Linked DNA regions of Homo sapiens: regions 1 and 2 are each linked to region 3. Evidence: promoter capture Hi-C in 16 types of primary human blood cells and fetal thymus (Javierre and others, 2016). All regions are on one chromosome and are shown on one strand. Each heading gives the region's core, a stretch centred on a gene start or on the middle of the fragment in contact. The rest is flanking DNA. Distances are from core to core; before and after follow the strand shown. Region 1 overlaps TRAK2 (trafficking kinesin protein 2). Region 2 overlaps TRAK2 (trafficking kinesin protein 2). Region 3 holds the start of TMEM237 (transmembrane protein 237).

Region 1 (3,855 bases), core at 748-3,247, 200 kb after region 3:
AGTGGCTCACACCTGTAATCCCAGCACTTTGGGAGGCCCAGGTGGGTGGATCACGAGGTCAGGAGTTCGAGACCAGCCTGGCCAACATGTGGTGAAACCCCATCTCTACTAAAAATACAAAAATTAGCTGGGCGTGGTGGAGCACACCTGTAATCCCAGCTACTCTGAAGGCTGAGGCAGGAGAATCGCTTAAACCCGGGAGACGGAGGTTGCAGTGAGCTGAGATCGCGCCTCTGCACTCCTGCCTGGTCGACAGAGCAAGACTCTGTCTCGGGGGAGAAAATTAAAAAAAAAAAAAAGAAAGAGCACACTGTCTGGAGGAAGAAAGGAGGAGGAGGAAGAGACTAGAAACCAACTAAAATGCTTCTGAGATGCTACTACTGTTCCCAAAGCATGTAATTTAACAACTAAAAAAACATTTCAACCATTCTTAACTTTCTCAGCAAGTACTAGGCCAAACCACTGAATTTGCCTTTGTTTTATTTTTAGTTACAAAATTGAAAGACTACAAATGAAGCTTTTATTAGCAATTGTGAGTTTTTAAAAGAAGATATCTGACCATTTCTCATTTGATGTGGGGCTTATTTTAAATGCATTCATGATCAGCTGCAAATGCTCTTAGTGGAAATTGTGATAAAACTAAGCAATGAGCCAAATGAATGTTGAGTTTTGGCTTTCCTATGAGACTGACAACTAGTTCTTTTTAGTTATTACAGAAAAGTGTATAGTGTGTCATTGCTATAAAAATGATAAAGCACCCTTTTAACACCAAACTCTTTTATGCAGATTTTTTCATAAAGCACATAAGTGTTTTTCTTTAGAATATTCAATCTTAGCTTAACTGTGTTTTTCAAGGCAATTCATTTAGTTGATGTTGTATTGAAAATGTATTAATATCAACTTTGTTCATTAAATTACTTCTGTAACTCAGTGTATTGATATTTTTAATGATTAAGCTTCTAGGTAGTAGGCACGTATTTTGCAAGACTACTGTGTGTCAGTTGCTGTTAGGTTTTGGACATAACAAAAATAAGGTCCCTTCCTTTGAGGAACTTGCAGTGTAGTGAGGGAAGAATGACTAGTGGGCAGCCATCTTCTGGGATCATCCAAGAAAGGGAATCAATAAACACTGATTAACCCATTTATGCCAGAGGTTGCAAATTTTTTTGTGTGAAAAATCAGACTTTGGCGATGACCTTGAGCAGTAGGATATGACTCCCACAAGCTTAGCATTCCAATAATGGAACAGTAGGCATAAATGGGTTAAAAGCAAAAATTACAGTGAGGGATGTTAAGATTTCCTAAACCTTTTTTCCATATTTATAATCCACTTTATATTTCCCCTAGCAATTAACAGTAAAATTCTCACAAAAGAATAGAGGAAGAGCTGTCTTTTCTAGGGAGACAGTTAAGAAAGGACAGAGTGTGTTCATGTTCATAGCTAGGCTAGGTAAAAGAATACCAGGTGAGAAAAGCACTTGCTGACAGTGCCAAAGGAGGAGGAGAAAGCCAGCTAAATCCCTGGTGCTGGAGGGATGAAAGAAAGAGGTATTTGGGAAGTCAGCCAAGGGCAGAAAAACAGGTCCTGGAGTTCAGTCAAACAGACACCTTATGGGTGTTCTGATAACCTGCTTATCTGGTTTCTCAGCCAACAGCGAGTTAGAAAGGGGAGAGGCAAGCTAGCAACAGTAAAGTGTAGTAGTTGATAGCCTCACAGTGAGGGAGGAAACAAAATTAGAAATGGGCTTAAAATCTTAAAAAAAAAATAGCAATTTGGGATTATTTACTATAGGGAGAAAGAGCTCTTTAACTATGGATGGGTGCAGACTTGTTGGGGTCACATATGAGCGGGTTATTTTCTTTTTCTTTTTTCTTCTTTAAGAGGCACTTTTTTTTTTTAATACTTTAAGTTTTAGGGTACATGTGCACAATGTGCAGGTTAGTTACATATGTATACATGTGCCATGCTGGTGTGCTGCACCCATTAACTCATCATTTAGCATTAGGTATATCTCCTAATGCTATCCCTCCCCCCTCCCCCCACCCCACAACAGTCCCCAGAGTGTGATGTTCCCCTTCCTGTGTCCATGTTTTCTCATTGTTCAATTCCCATCTATGAGTGAGAACATGCGGTGTTTGGTTTTTTGTCCTTGCGATAGTTTACTGAGAATGATGATTTCCAATTTCATCCATGTCCCTACAAAGGACATGAACTCATCATTTTTTATGGCTGCATAGTATTCCATGGTGTATATGTGCCACATTTTCTTAATCCAGTCTATCATTGTTGGACATTTGAGCAGGTTATTTTCTATTTTGCCATCTTGGCTACACCACCCAGAAAAAGCTCTTTAAAAGTTTATAATCCTGGAGGATATCACTGTAGTCATTATATTATAATACAGTAATTGCTCTTCTTAGTAATGATCCTGAGTCATCAAATTATTTTCTGTCTGGCCTAAGGACTTTTTTTTTCCTCCCATGGCAGTTTATTGGACTTTCCTCGTTATCATGTGTTAACTTCAGGAGGAAAACATCTTACCATCAATGTTTTTTAAAATAAGAAAACCATGGAAAACCACAAAAAAAAAAAGTATTAAAGATTCTGTGGTATTTTTGCCATCATGTTGTCAATCCCATCTCTAGGGAATGTTTGCACCTTCAGAGTAACCGATGAGCTTAGTTGGTATAGCCCTGCACGTACACCTACTTTACTGATACCCATGAGAGACCTATGTAGACTTTTGTAAATTAGGCTAAGAAAGCTTTCCATTTCCACATGTTCTAACAGTCTCATATTCCTATGCAGTTCATTTTCCTCCCTACTATAGACTACAAGGATGTAATTTGACTACAGCCTGATTCATTCATTTAACAGATATTTATTGAATGCCTGTCATTTGCCAGATACTAAGATAGAGGTAGACTTAATTTATTGGAATAGAGATTTATTTTTTATCTATGTTCCATTTACTACTTTTAGCAGTTCAAAACAAGTAACAGAATGCTTCCCAATTTATGGTAATACATCTGTATTATTTTCTTGATATTGTAGAATTACCCACTTAAAAACAGAACCAAAGTCAGATTTGGAGTTGTCTCATTAAGAATTGTGTGATGTACATACAACACACACACAGATTATTCTGCCTCACTGTAAATACACCCAACTCTGGAACCAGATAAGTCATTTCTAAAAGCAAATATAAATTGCTCAAGAACAAATGGTTGGGGGGAGCGGATTACTTGTTTTTTTTCTTCTTCTTCTATATTCAGTAACCACTATGTGTTTTTAAAAAGTGGAGTAGAGACATAGGATTGTAGTAGAATTATCTGAGGCTTTTGCAAACTACACACACACTACTATCCTCACACTCCAGTCCCTTGCTAGTAAAGCTCAGAGGATAGAGGCCTCAGCTTTGGAAAAACATAGTTGGGTTTTATTCCTGGCTCTTAGTATGGACAAGTAATTAACCTCTAAGCCTTAATTTTCTTGTCTGTAAAATGATGACAGTAATAACATTCACCTCATGGAATTGTGAGGATTAAAGGAGGTAATCATACACAGAAAGCATTTAACATGATGCCTGGCACCTAGTAAGTACTCAATCAGCTAACTATTATTAGGAAAGACTGATTTGCAACAGAATTGAGAACATATTTCTTTATCATATGCATTTCATTTGAAACACAGAAGGCCCTTGTGTCTTTATCATAAATTGTTTACCATCATTAGCTGGTCTTCAAAACCTTCGGAGTGCTAGTTTCGTTTGTTTTATTGTTCAGTAAAGGCACGAATTTCACTAAAATGTTTTGATTTTTGCTTTCAGTGTCAAAGAGCTAGTTCCTTTTGCT
Region 2 (3,998 bases), core at 165-2,664, 240 kb after region 3:
AGGCAGAAATGTTTGCTATATCGTAGCAGCAAGGGCTGTGGTCACTGCTTTAGGGTTAAAACCTCAAGACCTGCCTGTAGGTGTCAGGAGCTATTGTAGCTTTTACTATGCCATGTGGGCACTGTTTGTGTTTCATTTCTATTTTGTTGTTGTTTTTGTTGGTTTTGGTGTGGGAAAGTTGGAGAGTGCTGCAAGATTAGAATTCTTTTTGAAATTCTATAGTTGTGGTAAAAACTTTAGATCTTGAGAAGGGACATATGAGAGAACTATCAAGCACCATCTCATGTAAATGACAGATATTAGAATGGATTATCATTGGTGTTTCCCATCCTGAAAATAATGTGAGATTGAGCTAGTTAATGTGAAATTATGCAGGGACAGAACATAAAGTAAGGATTAGTGAAGTGCTTATGTATGTTAAACTCCCACCCTGTATTTTCAGGAACATTAGATTCTCCAAACATTACACCAAAAATGTTGAACATTAATTAACAACCTCTGGAAACCAAGTTGCAAAATTGTTCTGTAAAAATATCTATCGTCTCCCTGATGTATAAATACTTTTTTAGAGAGTTAGGGAAGTCTATGTCTGGAAATAAGCAAGGATCATTGCTAATTTCTGTATCATTTAACATATTTTCAACAACGAAAACTGACGGGAAAATAGGTTTTGATAGGATTGATTTTAACAAAGACAACCTGCTTGGCTACCTCTACATTCCTGGCTACAGAATTATGGTGAAGAACTAGTCTGTGGTTTTTGAAGCATTTAATTACAATGTCTAAATGCCAAGACTTTAAACACTTAAGAGTTTTGCCCTGAGTACTTTTGGAATCATTCCAAGCAGCATGTCTTTATCAGGAGTATTGTGTTAAGGAAGAGAAGACAGAACTGATTCCACTGCAGAGAGAAAAATCCATTGTTCTTTTCCATTGGAAAAGGAAAAATCCATTGTTCCTTTCTGTTTTGTGCCTGACATCTTTCTGTGCAACTGAAGAGGCCCAGCCTTTGTGGATTGGTAGTATCTAGGTTGCGCATTCGACATAAGAATTTGAAAATTCTGATTGCACTATCTAACTTTTTTGCCATAACAAATACTTAGGCATTTTAAAGTTCATTTTTGCTTTTTGAAACTTTTTAACAAAGGTTCCTGGGTTTTTGTGGGTTTTTTTTTTTTTTCTGTTTGGAAAATAACATTTGTTCTATGGAAAACTGGCAAAACGCTGAAAAGAAAACAGATCAGCCATAGTCCTTACCCAGAGATAACCACTATTAACATTTTAATGTATATCCTTTCAGGCTCTGTTGAATATAGATATTTATAGATATGCTCACACTTTAAAAAGCAAAATTGGGATCTATGCTGTTTTATTATATAACATGCATTCACAGGTGTATATGCTGGTATTTCATTAGACAAGGTCTTTTTTATGTTCTTAGTGGGGCTGCGGTAGAAACAGCAGCACAGTGGAAAGAGCTCATTACTGGACTCTTACATCATCTGAGTTTTTTCTAATGACCTTGTGAGATGAGCGTTATTATCATCTCCATACTAAAATTCCAGCTTTGCCACTAATAGCTTTCTTCGTGGTCTTGAACATGCCACATAATTTCTCTCAGAGAAGATTCCTCATACAAGAAAGTGAGATCATTAAACTAGATAACTTCTTAAGGTTCAGCTTTAAATTTTTATGCTGTGACAGATGGTAAGCATTTATAGGAAATATTTTTTCATTTTTCCTCACTAAAACATATTTTATTCTAAACATTTCTTCACTGTATTACTGTGTCCTTCATTTTTTTCTTCCCCTTTCATCATATATGACTTGTGGTTCACAGTTGTTTTTATATCCTTAACTTACTGGTCTTACTCCAAGTTAAATCTGCCACTTCATCTTTAACTCTGGTCAGTCATGTCATGTGTTTGTTAAACTCGTTGTATAAAAACTGATTTTAACTGAGCCTATAGGATGCCTGATTTTTGCTTTGGGTGTTAACCCCAGATTGGTGGTTTTAATTCCTGGCTCCAGGTCATTTTCAACACCTGGGAATCTTCTGCATACTACCAGCGCCACAGGGCTCCCTGAAATTAATTAAATCGGAATCTGGACTTAAGAGCCATTGCTCTATATTACATTTGGGTTTACAACCATTGTCTGGTTTTCTGTAATTAGTTTAGAGCATGGATATATTGATTTTATATTTTTCCCATAATTTTGTTATTGAGACCAGAAGTAAAGGAGACCATTCACTGTAAGTATTTGCCTTAATTATTTAATCCTTTGTTCCCGCTATGCTACCAAATTATATTGTGTCTATTCCTTAGGCCCAAAAGTCTGCTTCCCTTATCACTGTGGTTAAATCATTGTTAGTTTCTCTATTTGTAAATATAAATTCTTTTGGAGTACAAATGTTTATTTCTAGCTTTTAAGAAAAGTTTTTATATTTTCAGTTTAAATCTTTTTTAGTTATCTCCAATACCATCAAGCCAGCACTTTGTTTTACTTTTAACTAGGAATAAGGCTATTATTAATAATTAAGCTATAGGTAATTCCCAGATTCATTTTAGTCAGTGGTGCCAGGGAGAAAATAAGCTCAGATAAAAGTAAAACATATCTAATGATATCCCTTCATACTCAGTCGTGGGCACCCTAAAGTGTTAAGATGGGACTATGGAACTATGAATTACTGCCAATTCAGAGAATTTAAAGTCAGAATCATTTCATACCTACCAGTTCTGTTTAAGGAGTAGTAACTATAAACAGTTATATGATACGTAGCAGTTAACGAATACTTTATTGCTTAGTAGATTATCATGTTTGATCCTCTTAATAACCTCATGAGATGTGTTATCACCTCCATATTTATTATCTGAATCTCAGAAGGGTTAAGTGACTTGTTCCAGCTCACTAAAATTTATGAATTCAGCTTTTCTACTCCAAAGCCCCTGTCCTTTTCACACTTCAAGGCAAACTAGTTATAATAAAAGAGTCTAAGTCAAACACAGAATTATGTTCTGCAGTAACGTATCATGTTCAAAGTCAAAAGAGCCCTCTTTTGTTATGCATTATTAACTTTAAGATACTGTTTAGTGTGACTGGAATCATTGGAGTCATATTTGCCCTTCTCTTTTGAACTAAATTATCCAGGTACATTGACAATTCCTGAACTTGTGAAGTGCAGAAATACAGGGCTTGAATTATACAACTAATAATGTAGCATACAATTTATTTTATAGCTGAGACCTAGATGGGAGAAAGATTTTTATACAAGTAAAGGGTTTTTAATTAAGCCTAAAGGAATTATGGTTCATAACAGAACCAGAAAAAGTCCTTCAAATCCTGTTCCTTGTTTACATTAGCTCACATGGTAGATGATCATAGATGGTTATGATAATCACAGCAGAATTCCAATTAAATTCCTTTATAACAGCATAACCCCTCACTGATACCCCTTAGTAACTTTAATTTAGATTAGACTGTAAAGCAATCAGTAATTTAATCCATTCTCCCAGCCAAGATTCTCATAAGTGAGTGGCCAAACTTCCTGTCTTACCAGGGGAGGAGGAGATAGTCAAGATGTGACTGCCTTTTGATCATTTGATACTTTCTTAATTATTGTGTGGTATACACTTCGTTTGTAATGATTGGACTATTTCTTGAGTGTCTAATACATGAAACATTTCTTTTTTTTCACATATATTTTTATTCTCCTGAATGACTTTTTGTAAAAGGCTGGGGTTTTTGTTGTTGTTATCTCTCAATTCTTATTAATATTTAAATTTTTTCATTATTGCTAAAGCCTATAAATAGTTGTTTTTAACTATATTAGTTCTAGGCACAGACAGGGTGGAGCAGATGACCAAAACTTACAATGACATCGACATGGTTACACATCTCCTGGCAGAGGTAGGAATATCTTTTCTTTCTCCAGTACAAAAAGGTAAAACTTGAGGATCATTTGGAATCTATCAAATTTGCACATCAAATGGAAAATG
Region 3 (3,779 bases), core at 1,280-3,779:
TTGGACCTCATTTTTTAAAATAAAAACTTCAGTCTTTTATTATTTAAAAAAACTTCCAAATTAAAATTTCTTTATCTCAGTAATACATTTCTAAGAAATAAAGGATGACATACTGTGGATAGTGATATACTTTTCCCAGCTTTGCTTATGCTTCACATTAATTTAGAAGGATATGTTTATACCTGTTATAATAATTATATTTTCTCTACAAAAATTAGCTGGGCATGATGGCATGTGCCTATAGTCCCAGCTACTTGGGAGGCCTAGGTGGGAGGATCACTTGAGCCTGGGAGGCAGAGGCTGCAGTGAGCTGAGATGATCCTACTGCATGCCAGCCTGGGACAGAGTGGGACCCTGTCTAAAAAAAAAAAAAATTATTTTATCTATACTTAGCCACATTATTTCAATAACAGAGGGCAAAAAAATTACTATTTTCTAGTTTGCTGGTTTTGTAGAATTTTGAAAAAATATTTTTGAAACTTTATTGAAAATCATCTGTGCAAAATTTTCGGACCTTACTGTTTTTATACATAGTTTCACAACTGAATGTGACAGCATAACAAACTGTATTTTTTCCATTTGTCCAATTAAGTCTGTACTATCCATATTTTTCTATTTCTCCTAAAGGATGAAGACCTACAAGAGATGGAAAATTTAGCCCAAAGAATGGAAACTCAGTTTGGCCAATTTTTTGATCATGTGATTGTGAATGACAGCTTGCACGATGCATGTGCCCAGTTGTTGTCTGCCATACAGAAGGCTCAGGAGGAGCCTCAGTGGGTACCAGCAACATGGATTTCCTCAGATACTGAGTCTCAATGAGACTTCTTGTTTAATGCTGGAGTTTTAACACTGTACCCTTGATACAGCGATCCATAGTTGCAATCTAAAACAACAGTATTTGACCCATTTTAATGTGTACAACTTTAAAAGTGCAGCAATTTATTAATTAATCTTATTTGAAAAAAATTTTTATTGTATGGTTATGTGGTTACCTATTTTAACTTAATTTTTTTTCCTTTACCTCATATGCAGCTGTGGTAGAAATATGAATAATGTTAAGTCACTGAGTATGAGAACCTTTCGCAGATTTCACATGATCTTTTTAAGATTTAAATAAAGAGCTTTCCTAAATAAAATAAGCAATAGTTAACTTTAGAAACTGTACTCTATGAAACGTGTTTTATGAAAACATCTTTTACAAAAAGTGCTTACTTGACTAACTCAGCAAGAAAGGTTTAATGTACACATTTCACATCTAAAATCAAAACCTACAAGAAACTGCACTGCCTTCACTATTTACAAATCGGCCTACAAGGAAAAAATTATTCTCATGAGAGGTGTGACAAACACTAATTTTCCTTAACAGCCAATATCTACATGCAGGCCTAAATTAGAAAAAGGCAATGGATTAATCCCAGAGACCTATATATAGAAAATCACAAGAGTGAAACCGTGTCTCAGAGTTAAAGAAACCAGGGACTAACAGAAATTCTTGAGCATGCAGGACGGCAGATAAAAAACAACTTGCTAAATAAAACGCCTAAACTTCTTCCATTGTGAGATTAAAAAACAAAACAAAACAAAACAAAGCAAACTGGCTGAAAGTGGTTAGTACTAACACGGATGGCTACCTGGAGTCTGTACAAAATGAGCTTGCTGGCGTCACAGCTTGAATCTTTCCCCATGTTTCACACTGACTCCCTCCAAAATTTGCACATGCGACCCATGAAGGGACATGAAGAGGTAACTGCGAACGCCAGAGGATTTTCCAGATGGCTTCTTTCCTTCCACCAATCACCTACTAATCCCAGAATCCACCCCCTAAACGTTTTCTAATAAAAATACTGTCTTAAAGCCAACACAGGGAGACAGATTAGAGCTATACTCCTGTCTCCTTGTTAGCTGACTCACAATGAAAACTTTTCTCAAAAAATCAGCGCCATAATATTGGCTTCTGTGCGTATAGGGCAACAAGCCCCGTTTGTTTGGTAACAAGATTAGGATGCCATTACAAAGTGCTGTTTCTCTTTCTTTCCCCAGATTTGAGATTTCCAGGCGCTTTCCCTGTCCCTGTATCTGTTCATCTTCTGCATCATTCTCTTCTCCATATCCACACCATTCTTCCATCTTTCCCATTTCTTTCTTAACTGTAAAACAGAATGCATGATTCAAAATATTTGTAGTTCTCTGTTACTTAAAGTGAAAGTTATCTTTAAAAAAAAACAAACCCAACCAAACCAAACGATGCAAATCAGGTAGTTTGTAGTGATATTTATGTGAGGTTGGATTTGATTTTAAGGTTGAGAAAAAGTTTTTCCAAATTTGATTTACACAGTTGTGGGATGAAGGGTAAGCAATCGGAGAAAATGTGAGAATTGCCTATATTAATACACATCCACACACCCAGGCCTGCACAGACTCGTTGGTCCTGGAGAGTAAACGCATTCCTCCCAAACCCAGCAGCGCCTGGCAGGACAGAGGCGGGCGGGGACCTGGCTCAGGGGGCGGCTGCCTCGCCAGGCGCCACGAAGCCCCGGCGTCCCACAGGTCCCGGAGGCCGCTGCGTCGCGGGGAGCTGGGCTCGGGCCGCCGGCGGTTGCGCCGGGGCAGCCCCGCGGGGAGAGCACCATGAGGACTGACTCGGGGGCTCGGCTGGAGGAGGGCCACCTGGTGAGCGGCGAGGGGCGCGTCGGCCTCGAGAGGTGGCGGGTAAACAGCTACACTTGGCAGTGGGGGTGGGTGTGTGTGGGGGGGCGCCAACGAGCTGGGAATCACTAAGGGAGGGCCTTGCTCGTGGGGTGCGCGCATCCGCCCCTCCAGTGTTCACAGGAATGGGACGGAGACGCAGGCGAGGCCGGGACCGAACTCCCGGAGTGGGAGAGAGAGGCCTGGCATGAAGTTTGCGGGGACCTGAGCCCGCGTTGCCACGACGACGCCTCACTCATCTGAGGCCCGGGGCCCGGCGGGTGCCGGGGCTTCCAGCCAGGCCTCTCCTAGACTCCTCCGAGGAGAGGTCTGTAGCTGCCCAGAAGAGATCTGTTCGCCTGCGGAGTCCTTTAATTAAGGTCTTCCGTCACGCCCCGCTTCCCGCAAACAAATCACCGCCACCACTTAGGAAACCACGGGAAAGCTGTGATTGCAGCGCCACGGTCGCCAGATTTCTGCTCCTGGGCACATTACCCCCAACTCCGAGGCCCCCTTTTTGGCAGGGCTAGTCTGGACTGGCCAATCCAGGTCCCTGCACGCCTCTCACCGCAACATCCCCGCAGGGCGCTGCGCGCGGGGTACTAGCCAGGCGGCGCGGCCCGATGACGCATTGCGCCTGCGCGCGCGACCGAGCCGGGAGGGGTGGGGCGCCAGGTGCTTGGGGGCCGGCGGCCGCCGAGGCCGGCTAAACGCAGAATGGGGAAGAATCCTGTGGTAAGCGAGCCTTAGCTACTTTTAATTGTTAGGATTTTTGTCTTCAGTTGAGCCGTCCTACTTTTGAGGATTAGAGGTTGGGTCTCTGGGTGGGTGGAACGTCATTTTTGCGGGACTTTTGAAATCAGTTACGTGAACAGAGCCCTGGGATCGATCGCGCGCGCTTCGTAGCATCTTTAGAACAATAGCGCGTTCCTGTGACTGTCATTCTTCTCCAATTGTAATTTTGACTACTGGATGGTATTACGGCAGCTTGCCTCGTCCTAATCTTGTAGTACTTGCATTAATCTACTGTTCGAACGAATGGATTGCTAAATGGGACAAACTACAAGAGTGTCTAAAATTTAACCCTTTTG

Evidence for each region. The method cuts DNA at HindIII sites, captures the fragments that hold promoters and counts their contacts. A CHiCAGO score of 5 or more calls a contact.
Region 1: a fragment that was not itself captured here is called in contact with the fragment with the promoter of TMEM237 in region 3 in 1 of 17 cell types (endothelial precursors); the score reaches 5.2 in endothelial precursors.
Region 2: a contact is called between a fragment that was not itself captured here and the fragment with the promoter of TMEM237 in region 3, in 1 of 17 cell types (endothelial precursors). The highest score is 6.2, in endothelial precursors.

The regions. Positions count from the first base shown.
Region 1 is chr2:201,438,127-201,441,981 of GRCh38, reverse strand. All of the region lies in intron 1 of TRAK2 (trafficking kinesin protein 2), which reads left to right. Among named protein-coding and RNA genes, the nearest start is that of TRAK2, 11 kb to the left of the region's middle. The HindIII fragment of the contact is 1,540 bases long and covers 1,228-2,767 here.
Region 2 is chr2:201,400,929-201,404,926 of GRCh38, reverse strand. It overlaps TRAK2 (trafficking kinesin protein 2), which reads left to right. Exons shown (of 16, transcript NM_015049.3): 4 at 3,833-3,909. Among named protein-coding and RNA genes, the nearest start is that of FLACC1, 46 kb to the right of the region's middle. The HindIII fragment of the contact is 6,322 bases long and covers 1-3,998 here.
Region 3 is chr2:201,642,253-201,646,031 of GRCh38, reverse strand. It overlaps TMEM237 (transmembrane protein 237), which reads left to right and starts at 2,529. Exons shown (of 13, transcript NM_001044385.3): 1 at 2,529-2,673. The coding sequence starts at 2,632. MPP4 (MAGUK p55 scaffold protein 4) reads left to right here. Exons shown (of 22, transcript NM_033066.3): 22 at 628-1,158. The coding sequence ends at 822. RefSeq lists silencers at 2,411-2,670, 3,241-3,430. The HindIII fragment of the contact is 8,699 bases long and covers 1-3,779 here.